Regions from separate parts of the Homo sapiens genome. Here region 2 is linked to region 1. Evidence: promoter capture Hi-C in human tissues and cell types (Jung and others, 2019). All regions are on one chromosome and are shown on one strand. Each heading gives the region's core, a stretch centred on a gene start or on the middle of the fragment in contact. The rest is flanking DNA. Distances are from core to core; before and after follow the strand shown.

The links. The method cuts DNA at HindIII sites, captures the fragments that hold promoters and counts their contacts. A contact is called where the count stands out against the background at its distance.
Region 2: a contact is called between a fragment that was not itself captured here and the fragment with the promoter of MED18 in region 1, in 1 of the 25 tissues and cell types used here (spleen).

The regions. Positions count from the first base shown.
Region 1 is chr1:28,326,756-28,332,685 of GRCh38, forward strand. It overlaps MED18 (mediator complex subunit 18), which reads left to right and starts at 2,285. Exons shown (of 3, transcript NM_017638.3): 1 at 2,285-2,425; 2 at 3,842-3,980. The coding sequence starts at 3,908. RefSeq lists enhancers at 2,319-2,826, 2,827-3,334. The HindIII fragment of the contact is 33,273 bases long and covers 1-5,930 here.
Region 2 is chr1:28,929,145-28,935,074 of GRCh38, forward strand. All of the region lies in intron 1 of EPB41 (erythrocyte membrane protein band 4.1), which reads left to right. The region is part of intron 1 of LOC124903886 (a long non-coding RNA gene); the gene reads right to left. Among named protein-coding and RNA genes, the nearest start is that of EPB41, 18 kb to the left of the region's middle. The HindIII fragment of the contact is 5,237 bases long and covers 1,131-5,930 here.

The DNA of each region.
Region 1 (5,930 bases), core at 1,035-3,534:
CATCATATCCTTATCAGAGAAACCCATCCCTGTAATCTCCAGGCCTCCTTCAGGTATTATCATATTGTTTACCCATTTTCTGTCTATCTCCCCTACCTTTTTAAAAAAATTTACCCTTCTTTAAAATACCAGCTAAAATCTGGGTAAACCCTATGGTGCCTCAAATGACCTGTAATTCACTGGACTTTCTATGCTGCAATTAGTGTCTGTATAGGAAAAGAGAGGCCAAAGAAGTTCACAGCCTCCTCTAATCATTACAGCACTTGAGAGCTGGTCACTCTGCCCAATCTTGTGAATCACCAGGTTGATCAGGAGGCACATCCTAAACCCTAGGGCATACGCAATCCTTGTCAATCTTCTTTTCCTACTTAGTACACTCTTTCACGATGATCTCATTCAATGTCATGGCTTTTAGCTACCATCTATGAGGCTATGGTTTTGAAATCTCTATCTGTAGCCCATTTCTCTCCCCTGAACTTTGCCATTTGGGTGTCCCACAGACACCTGATGCTCAGTGGGTCTACATATGAACTCATCTTTCCTGTCTCACCCACACTGCTCTGTGTTTCCTAGCTTAGAGAAAAAAAGTGCTACGATAGCCACCCAAGACATCTGTGACTCCTTCATCTCTGTCTTTACCTCTGGTTAGTCATTAAAGAATTATTTTCCATATATATATAGAGGACAGAGTCTTGCTCTGTAGCCCAGGCTGGAGAGCAGTGGTGCAATTTCAGCTCACTACAACCTCTGCCTCCTGGGTTCAAGCAATTTTGGTCTCTTGACCACCTGAGCCACCTGAGTAGCTGGGACTACAGGCGTGTGCCACCACACCCGGCTAATTTCCTCTTTTTACTTTTTTTTTTGAGCCGGAGTCTTGCTCTGTCGCCCAGGCTAAAGTGCAGTGGTGCGATCTCGGCTCACTGCCAGCTCTGTCTCCCAGGTTCACACCATTCTCCTGACTCAGCCTCCCAAGTAGCTGGGACTACAGGCGCCCGCCACTACGCCCAGCTAATTTTCTGTATTTTTAGTAGAGACAGGGTTTCACCGTTAGCCAGGATGGTCTCGATCTCCTGACCTCGTGATCCACCCCCCTCGGCCTCCCAAAGTGCTGGGATTACAGGCGTGAGCCACCGCGCCTGTCCTCTTTTTACATTTTTAAAATCTTTTTCTGACATTTGTTTCTCAGCTGGAGTTGTACCAAAGCGCCTAACTGGTCGTTTTTCTTTAATTTTTTTCCAGACAGGATCTCCCTCTGTTGCACAGGCTGGAGTGCAGTGGCGCTATCTCAGCTCACTGCAACCTCTGCCTCCTGGACTCAAGCAATCCTCCCACCTCAGCCTCCCAAGTAGCTGGGACTGCAGGTGCGAGCCACTACGTTCAGCTAATTTTTTGTATTTTTTGTAGACACAGGGTTTCACCATGTTGTTCAGGCTGGTCTTGAATTCCTGAACTCAAGCCATCTGCCCGCCTTGGCCTCCCAAAGTGCTGGGATTACAGGCCTGAGCCACCGTGTCCGGCCTGGTCTTTTTTCTCTAGGCTCTCTCCTTTCCCAAACTTTTCTCCATGTTGTAGCCAGGGTTCTTTTAAAGCTCACATGTATTCTTTGGTATGGCACTGCAGAGTACTCCTGGATCTGGACCTACTCCTTTTCCAGACTCTTTTTTTTTTTTGAGACAGAGTCTCTCTCTGTAGCCCAGGCTACAATGCAGTGGCGCGATCTCGGTTCGCTGCAACTTCCGCCTCCCGCGTTCAAGCGATTCTCCCACCTCAGCCTCCCTAGTAGCTGGGATTACAGGCGCGCGTCACCATGCCCGGCTAATTTTTGTATTTTTAATGGAGACGGAGTTTTACCATCTTGGCCAGGCTGGTCTCGAACTCCTGACCTCAAGTGATCCGCCTGCCTCGGCCTCCCAAAGTGCTGGGGTTACAGGCGTGAGCCACCGCGCCCAACCCCTCAGTTCTTTTTTCTTTTGAAACCCACTATAATCTCTGTAAGTCCTATCAGTTCCAAGAGACTTTCTACACAAATACATCTCCAGGTTGTCAAACCTAAAAAGATTTTCCTAGAGCATGGCCTATGACGTCAAGGATCCAGGTAGCGCCCGGAGGAAAGCGCCAAAGGAGGCCGCCATCTTTCATACAGCAGCCCGGAATTTTGCGCATGCGCCTCTGATTGTCTGTCCGCAATGAAGCTCTTCGGCCTTCTCGGCACCCATACGTTTGGGAACGGCAGTTTCGAGGTTTGTGAGACGTCGGCTTCCGACCGGAAGTGAGAAGAGGAGGAAGTTGGCTGGTTGCACCGATCTGGGGGCTTCCCGGGCTCGGGTAACCGGAGTGCTGGTATCTAATCGTCGCTCAAAAGCTCCTAGGTGCGCGGGTGGATATAATTCCCGGCTTCTCGAGAAGACACTACAGCCTCAAGGAGGTGTGCTTCTAGTGTTTAATTGGATACGTGTTATGGATGCCGGCTTAGAAGGACCTATATACCATCATCTTAAAATAACTTCCCCTTGGCTCTCTCTCTCTTTTTTTTTTTTTTTTTTTTTTTGAGACGGAGTTTCGCTCTTGTTGCCCAGGCTGGAGTGCAATGGCGCGATCTCGGCTCACCGCAACCTCGCCTTCCGGGTTCAAGCGATTCTCCTGCCTCAGCCTCCTGAGGAGCTGGGATTACAGGCGCTCGCCACCAGGCCTGGCTAATTTTTTGTATTTTTAGTAGAGTCGGGGTTTCTTCATGTTGGTCAGGCTGGTCTCGAACTCCCAACCTCCAGTTGATCCGCCGGCCTCGGCCTCCCAAAGTACTGAGATTACAGGCGTGAGCCACCGCGCCCGGCCTTGGCTCTCTTTAAAAGGCATTTTTAGGCTAGCCGCAGTGTGGTCTCCCGCCTGTAGTAGTCCCAGCTACTCGGCTTGAGCCCAGGAGTTCGAGGTTATAGTGAGCTAGGAACTCCCCACTGCACTGCAGCCTGGGCTACAGAGCGAGATCCTGTCACCAAAAAAGAAAAGCGTACGGGGGAAGGCATTTTCAGAGAGATAGAACGCCTAGATGTTAGTTTGGTCCAAACTCTGCTACCAACTTGCTGTGTGTATCCTTCTGTCCCTCTCCAAGTCTCAATATCCTCATCTATAAAACGAAGGTCCCTTAAGTCACTTTTTCAGTTCTTCTGAATTTTGTTGCCTCTTTATTATCTCGTTTGAGCCACATAGCCTTGGGAGTTAAAAATCACTGGCCTTTGGCCGGGCACGGTGGCTCACACCTGTAATGCCAGCACTTTGGGAGGCCGGATCACCTGAGTATCACCTGAGGCCAGGAGTTCGAGGCCAACCTGGCCAACATGACGAAACCCCGTCTCTACTAAAAATACAAAAAAAATTAGCTGGGCTTGGTTGCGGGCGCCTGTAATCCCAGCTACTCGGGAGGCTGAGACAGGAGAATCGCTTGAACCTGGGAGGCAGAGGCTGCAGTGAACAGAGATTGCGCCATTGCACTCCAGCCTGGGCGACAAGAGTGAAACTCCGTCTCAAAAAAAAAAAAAAAAAAAAATCACTGGCCTCATTTTATAAGGAAGACATTGAGTCCCAGGGTGAGGGGTTATAGATAGGACTTTCTCAAGATTGCACAGGTAATGTGGAGGTTTCAGAACTTGAGACTAGAAGGTAATGCTGTAACTCCATGACCAGATCTCCTTTCTATATTTCTGTGTCATCAGTTCCTGGAACTGGCCATATAAGGAAATACTCAAACGTTTTTGAATGAATGAATCTTTGATTTGAAGGCCAGTGCCACAACAGATCTGGTCTCTCTCCACCACTTTGATGTATAAACAAGTGAACTCTTTTCCAGGTATATCCCGTGCCTTACCTGACTGGGGGCTCTGAGTCCAGTTGTGTTGTCTTCAACTTAGACACCATGGAGGCACCTCCAGTCACCATGATGCCTGTCACTGGGGGCACCATTAACATGATGGAGTACCTGTTGCAGGGTAAGTGAACTAGGGAACTTGGATTACCTGTTTTCCTCTTCTCTGTTCAGCTTCCCTTAAGATGAGAGACTTAACACAAAAGCAGCCTGCACAGTTTCTGGCACCCAGCTATGTTTTTAACTGTTACTTTAAATTATAGTTTTATATGCACTAAACATACTAAATTTGCCATCTTGGCTGGGCATGGTGGCTCACGCGTATAATCCCAGCACTTTGGGAGGCCGAGGTGGGCGGATCACGAGGTCAGGAGATGGAGACCATCCTGGCTAACACAGTGAAACCCTGTCTCTACTAAAAATACAAAAGAAATTAGCCCGGCGTGGTGGCGGGCACCTGTAGTCCCAGCTACTCAGGAGGCTGAGGCAGGAGAATGGTGTGAACCTGGGAGGCAGAGGTTGCAGTGAGCCGAGATCGCGCCACTGCACTCCAGCCTGGGCGACAGAGTGAGACTCTGTCTCAAAAAAAAAAAAAAATTGCCATCTTAACATATTTAAGTGTACAGTTCTGTATTGTTAAGTATATTAACATTGTTAAACAACAGATCTTTAGAACTTTGGTTTATTGTGAGTAGCTTGAAAAAATACTTAGTACAACTTTTTATTTCTTTGAGACAGAGTCTCAATCTGTCACCCAGGCTGGAACGCAGTGGCACAATAACAGCTCACTGCAACCTCTATCTACTTCCCGGGTTCGAGGGATTCTTGTGTCTCAGCCCCCCTAAATAGCTGGGATTGCAGGCGTGCATCACCACGCCCAGCTAATTTTTGTATTTTTAGTAGAGAGTTGTGGTTTCATCACGTTGGCCAAACTGATCTTGAACTCTTGCCCTCAAGTGATATACTTGCCTTGGCCTCCCAAAGTGCTAGGATTACAGGTATGAGCTGCCGCGCCTGGCCTAAAATACTTAAGTTTTTCATCCTATAAAACTGCAACTCTATACCCATTAAACACTAATTACCACTCCCCTCTATGCCAAACCCTTAGCAACTATCTTTCTAGGTCCTGTTTCTCTGATTTTTTTTTTTTAAGATGGATTCTCACTCCGTTGCCCAGGCTGGAGCACAGTGGTGCAATCTTGGCTTACTGCAGCCTCTGCCTCCCAGATTCAAGCGATTCTTCTGTCTCAGCCTCCTGAGTAGCGGGATTACAGGTGTGCACCACCATGGCCAGCTAATTTTTGTATTTTTAATAGAGACAGGGTTTTTCCATGTTGGCCGGGCTGGTCTTGAACTCCTGACCTCAGGTGATCCACCTGCCTCAGCCTCCCAGAGAGCTGGGATTACAGGCGTGAGCCACCGCGCCCAGCCAGATTTTGTAAACAAGTATCTGAATATGTTCCTAACATTTGAGCCATAGCCATGGAGGCAGAAAGATGACTAAAAAAATGTATGTCAAGCCAGCTGTTACAGGCTTATGCCTGTAATTCCAGTTGTTTGGGAGGCTAAGGCTGCAGTACTGCTTGAGTTCGGGAATTCAGGATTAGTCTGGACAACATAGCAAGAACTCATCTCTACTAAAAAAAAAAATTAGCTGGGCATGGTGGTGCGCACCTGTAGTCTGAACCACTTGGGAGGCTGAGGCGGGAGGATCACTTGAGCCCAGGGGATGGAGGCTGCAAAGAGTTATAATCACGCCACTGCTCTATAGCCTGGAGACAGAGTGAGACCCTACCTAAAAAAAAAAAACAAAACTATGCCATAAAAATAAAGCAGGAAAGTGGCTAGAGATTGGTAGGACACATACTATTTTATTAGGGTGATCAGAAAAGGCCTTGATGATAAAGTCACTTGAGCAGAGACCTGACAAAAGTGATAGAGTAGACATGCAGATGGGAAGAACATCCTAAGCACAGAGAATAGGAGAAGGGGTGTGGCAGGAAGGTCACTCCTGGAGAGAATGATCAAGGGGAGGAATAGAAGGAGATGATGTTTGGCAGGTAGCAGAGACCAT
Region 2 (5,930 bases), core at 2,499-4,998, 600 kb after region 1:
TAAATGATGTTCCTTTATAATCTCACTGGTACTTGACTTATACATGCTGTGACCTTGGCCTTCTTTTTTTATTTTAATTTTTACTATTTTTTTTTTTTTGAGACAGAGTCTTGCTCTGTCGCCCAGGCTGGAGTGCAGTGGCGCTGTCTCAGCTCACTGCAAGCTCTGCCTCCCGGGTTCACGCCATTCTCCTGCCTCAGCCTCCCAAGTAGCTGGAACTACGGGTGCCTGCCACCGTGCCCGGCTAATTTTTTGTATTTTTTTTTTAGTAGAGACGGGGTTTCACCGTGTTAGCCAGGATGGTCTCGATCTCCTGACCTTGTGATCCGCCCGCCTCGGCCTCCCAAAGTGCTGGGATTACAGGCGTGAGCCACTGCGCCCGGCCAATTTTTACTATTTTTTTTGAGACGGAGTTTCACTCTTGTTGCCGGGGCTGGAGTGCAATGGCGCGATCTTGGCTCACCGCAATCTCTGCCTCCCGGGTTCAAGCGATTCTCCTGCCTCAGCCCGCCGAGTAGCTGGGATTAGAGGCATGCGCCACCACGCCTGGCTAATTTTGTATTTTTAGTAGAGACGGGGTTTATCCATGTTGGTCAGGCGGCTAGTCTCGAACTCCTGACCTCAGATGATCTGCCCGCCTTGGCCTCCCAAAGTGCTGGGATTACAGGCGTGAGCCACCGCGCCTGGCACTGGGCCTTCTTTTTTTTTTTTTTTTTTTTTTTTAAAGACTTTATTGAGATATAATTAACATATCATATGATTTAACCATTTAAAGTATACGATTTAATGTTTTTTAGTGTGTTTATGGGGTTGTGCAGCCATCATCTCAATCTAATTTTTGAACATTTTCATCCCCCTGAAAAGAAACTTCATATTCATTAGCAGTCATTCCCCATTCCCCACCCTGCAACCCCAGTCCTAGGTAAGCACTAACTACTTTATGTCTCTCTAGATTTACCTATTCTAGACATTTCATATAAATAGAATTATACAATATGTTGCTTCCTTTTTTTTTTTTTTTTTTTTTAAAGAAACAGAGTCTTACTCTGTTGCCCAGGCTGGAGTGCAGTGGCACCAACATAACTCACTGCAGCCTTGAACTCCTGGGCTCAAGTGATCCTACCGCCGCAGCCTTCTGAGTAGTTGGAATTACAGACACACACCACCACACCAGCTAATTAAAAAAAAAAAAATTTTTTTTTTTATAGAAACGGGGTCTTGTCATATTGCCCAGGCTGGTCTTGAACTCTTGGGCTCTAGACATTGTCCTTCCTCAGCCTCCCAAAGTGCTGGGATTACAGGCATGAACCACTACATCTGGCCCTGAACTGTGTGTGTGTGTGTTTTTTTTTTAATTTGAGACTGAGTCTCTCTCTGTTGCCTGGGCTGGAGTGCAGTGGCACGATCTTGACTCACTGCAACCTCCGCCTCCCAGGTTTAAGTGATCCTTCAGCCTCAGACCCCCTAGTAGCTGGGATTATAGGCACACACCACCATGCCTGGCTAATTTTTGTATTTTTAGTAGAGACGGGGTTTCACCTTGTTGGCCAGGCTGGTCTCGAACTCCTGACCTCAGGTGATCCGCCCGCCTCAGCCTCCCAAAGTGCTGAGATTACAGGCGTGAGCCACCGCACCTGGCCCATTTCATCACCTTTTTTACCTGTAATTTTTCTCTGGCTGAATATGCTTTTAAGAAATAAAAGTTCTCAATAAAAATCCTGTGGTATATTGTACCTTGTGATAAATAATACCCAAGATCCATGATGGGAAGGGAGATTTTTAAACATATCTTAAATACATGATACTGAAAGTATGAGGCAGACTAAATTATTCCATCAGTATTCAGAATACTTATCAACAGAGACTTTTTAGGAAAAAATACAAAATTATGAATACAAAACTAGGGATGAAAACAAATACCTATCTAGAATGAGAAAACCACAAGTTACATATTTTAAAAAGCTGAAAAATAGGCTGAGCATGGTGGCTCATGCTTGTAATCCCAGCACTTTGGGAGGCTGACGTAGGAGGATAGCTTGAGCCCAGGAGTTTCATACTAGCCAGGGCAACATATGATACCACACCTCTACAAAAAATTTAAAAATTAATGGGACGTGGTGGCATGTACCTGTGGTCCCAGCTACTCGGGAGGCTGAGGTGGGAGGGTCACTTGAGCTTGGGAAGCTAAGGTGGTTCTAGCCTTGGCAACAGAGTAAGACTCTGTCATTAAAAAAAAAAAAAAAAAAGGCTGAAAAATAGCACAAATATCACAAAATTTAGAAAAATAGCTTAACATTTTAATTAACTGATATGGTGTCATAGTTCATTTTTTTCTGTATTTTTGGCTTCATACTCCTCTAAAGAGTTTTATATTATGACTTTGTAATTTTTTTTTTTTTTTTGAGACAAAGTCTCGCTCTGTTGCCCAGGCTGGAGTGCAGTGGTGCGATCTCGGCTTACTGCAACCTCCGCCTCCCGGGTTCAAGCAGTTCTCCTGCCTCAGCCTCCCGAGTAGCTGGGATTACAGGCGCCCGCCACCACGTCTGGCTGATTTTTTTTTTTTGTATTGTTGGTAGAGACAGGGTTTCACTGTGTTAGCCAGGATGGTCTCGATCTCCTGACCTCATGATCCACTCGCCTCGGCCTCCCAAAGTGCTAGGATTACAGGCGTGAGCCACCGCGCCCGACCAATGACTTTGTAATATTTTCAATAGAGACAGCACAAAGATAATTCAGTCTTCCTTTTAGCTTGGTGGCCTTGGCAGGGGCCAGTACAAATGAGGGCCCTGAGCTTAAGCTTATTTTAACAGTAAATCTACTTCTGCATAGTAAGTAATCTTAAGAGATGAACCAAGAGGTTGTAATATGCCTAGTCTATATTTTAAGCATTTATTGCAATTGTTTGGTTATTATAAGTTGCTTCATGTGAATCATTTTCTTGGATTTAATGTTCAACTAGAAACTTGTAGTGTTTTGTTTTGTTTTTTGTTTTTTTTGAAATGGAGTCTTGCTCTGTTGCCCAGGCTGGAGTGCAGTGGCACTATCTCAGCTCACTGCAGCCTCCGCCTCCCGAATTCAAGTGATTCTTCTGCCTCAGCCTCCTGAGTAGCAGGGATTACAAGTGGGTGCCACCACACCTGGCTAATTTTTGTATTTTTAGTAGAGATGGAGTTTCGCCATGTTGGCCAGGCTGATCTCGAACTCTTGACCTCAGGTGATCCACTCTCCTTGGCCTCCCAAAGTGCTGGGATTACAGGCATGAGCATCATGCCTGGCCTCTATATTTTTATCTTTTCTTCCAGGAGCCAAAGCTGCTGCTTTTTCTCCTTTTTTTTTTTTATGCTTCTCTCCTACCTCCTTTAAAAAAAAAAAGCAGATATCTTTTTTTTCCCAAATAATTCATGTTATTGTTAATGTGGAGATGAAAAACAGGCCAAACTAGTTATATATTTTCAGTCTAAGATCTTTCTCCTCTGTTAAGTTTTAGACTAGATATTCTTGTTTTGTCAGGCTCTCAGTACATTTTCTCTTCCATGTCAACTCTAATTCTCTTCATCTCTTCTTTTGGTAGTGAAAATCAAGTAGAATATTAAAAGACCATATGCTCTGCAAATCACTTAGAAGCAAACTTGCTCTGTGATAGTATGGCCTTGATATTTGTCATTAATATTATTCGTTGTTTTATTTTTGGGGTAGCTTTCTGGAGGTCAAGGGTTTACAAGTAGAACAAAGAAATATGAGTAGTTAGTGACCGAAGAACTAAAGCTTTTTTCCAGGATTTTCTTGTTTTACAAAGACACGTATAGACATTTTGTTAGATTTTTAAATACCTCAGTTGACAATTTAAATGTTGAGAGCCCAATACTGTTAGTATTGTGAATATATTTGAGTTGAATATATTTGGTATATTTAGTTTGTATATTTAATTTTTTGAAAAAGTTTTGTCTTTATGTATTTTTTTCTTTAACATTTGAGCTTGAATCAATAAAGGGCAGCAACAGAAAAGCATTTTGGATCAAACATATTTGCCGTGTTCACTATATTTTGATGATAAATAGATGGCAACATTTGTCTTTGAGTCTGTCTTGTTCTGCTCAAAAAGCAGAAAAGATAGGAAGAGAGAAATAAGTAAGATTTACTGCACTTTGCTTAATATTCTTACAGCAATAACACACCTTAGCTGGTGGTATTTTCCTTTTATGAATCATAAAGTCAGACTGGGAGAGGTAACTTATCTAAGGTCATGAAGCTAGTAACTGAGGGTGCTAAGACTCAATGTTTAGCTGACTTCAAAACTGATGTGCAGCACTGTGATTGGATTTGGAACTCTCTTCTATTGTGGTTAGGGTAGTGGTAAACTTTCATCCTATTCAGATTTTCACAAGTCATAATTTATTGTCACCTAGGATGACCAGGATTCAATCTAGGCTATCACATTGCATTTAGTGGTTATGTCTTCCTTAGTCTCCTCCAATCTGTGATAGTATCTCCTTGCATTTCATAGCATTGATGCGTTCATAGAGTATCGGCCAGGTGTTTTACAAAATGCCAGTCGGGGTTTGTCTGATTTTTTTCCACGATTAGATAGTAGATTTTTGGGAAGAATACAGAGGTGATGTGTCCTCAGTATGTCATGTTGGGCAAAGCAAGACCTAGTCTAAAAAAACCACACACACGGTTTTAGATTTACAGATTTATTGTGAAGATAGTACAGAGTCCCTATATACCCCACACTGCAGTTTCCTCTATTATTAATATATTAGTATAGTATATTTTTAACATTAGTAAACTGATATTGATACATTATTGTTAACTAAAGTTCATATTTTATTCAGATTTCCTCAGGTTTTTTTCCTAATGTCTTTTTCCTGTTCCTGAATACCATCCAGGATACCACATTATGTCTAGTACTCATTTCTCCTTACAGTTTTCTTGGTTGTGATTGTTTCTCAGACTTGCTTTGTTTTTGATGATCTTGACAGTTTTGAGGGTTGTTGGTCAGATATTTGTAAGATTGCCTCAGTTGGGATTTGTGTGATGTTTTTGTCATTATTAGACTTGATAATGTGTTTTTGGGAGGAAGACCCAGAGAGGTAAAGTATCATTCTCATTACTTCCTATCAAGGGTACATCCTATCAATATGACTTATCACTACTGATGTTGACCTTGGTCTTAAGGTAGTTTATCAGGTTTCTCTGCTGTAAAGATACTTTCCCCCCTTTTCCATACTGTACTCTTTAGATGAAAGTCACTATGCATAGCCCACACCTAAGGAGTGGAGAGTTGTACTCTACCTCCTTGAGGGCAAAATATCTACACAAATTATTTGTAATTCTGCATCAGAGACTTTATTTTTCCTCATCTGTTCAATCATTTATATCAGTGTGGAGTCATACTGATATGGATATTTATTTTACACTTTGGGTTTTAATCCAGTATTACTTCATTTATTTTGTTGCTCAAATTGTTCCAGCTTTGGCCATCAGGTGCTCTTTTGGTTGGCCTCTGGTTCTTTTGACATTGTGTGTGTGTGTGTGTGTGTGTGTGTGTGTGTGTGTGTATTTTAATACTTTCCTACTTTGTGGTACTACAAAATGCTCCAGGCTCATCTTGCATATTTCCTGCCCGGCTCCTAGAATCAGTCATTTCTCCAAGGAGTCCCCATTCCTTTTATTGGATAATGGCATTAGAAACCAAGATCTGGCCAGGCACGGTGACTCAAACGCCTGTACTCCCAGCACTTTGGAAGGCTGAGGCAGAAGGATTGCTTGAGTCATGGACAACATAGTGAGGCCTTGTCCCTACAAAAAATGAACAGAACTAGCCAGGGGTGGTGGCGCATCCTTGTGGTCCCAGCTACTCAGGAGGCTGAGGGAGGATCGCTGGAGCTTGAGAGGTTGAGGCAGCTGTGAGCCATGTTCATGCCACT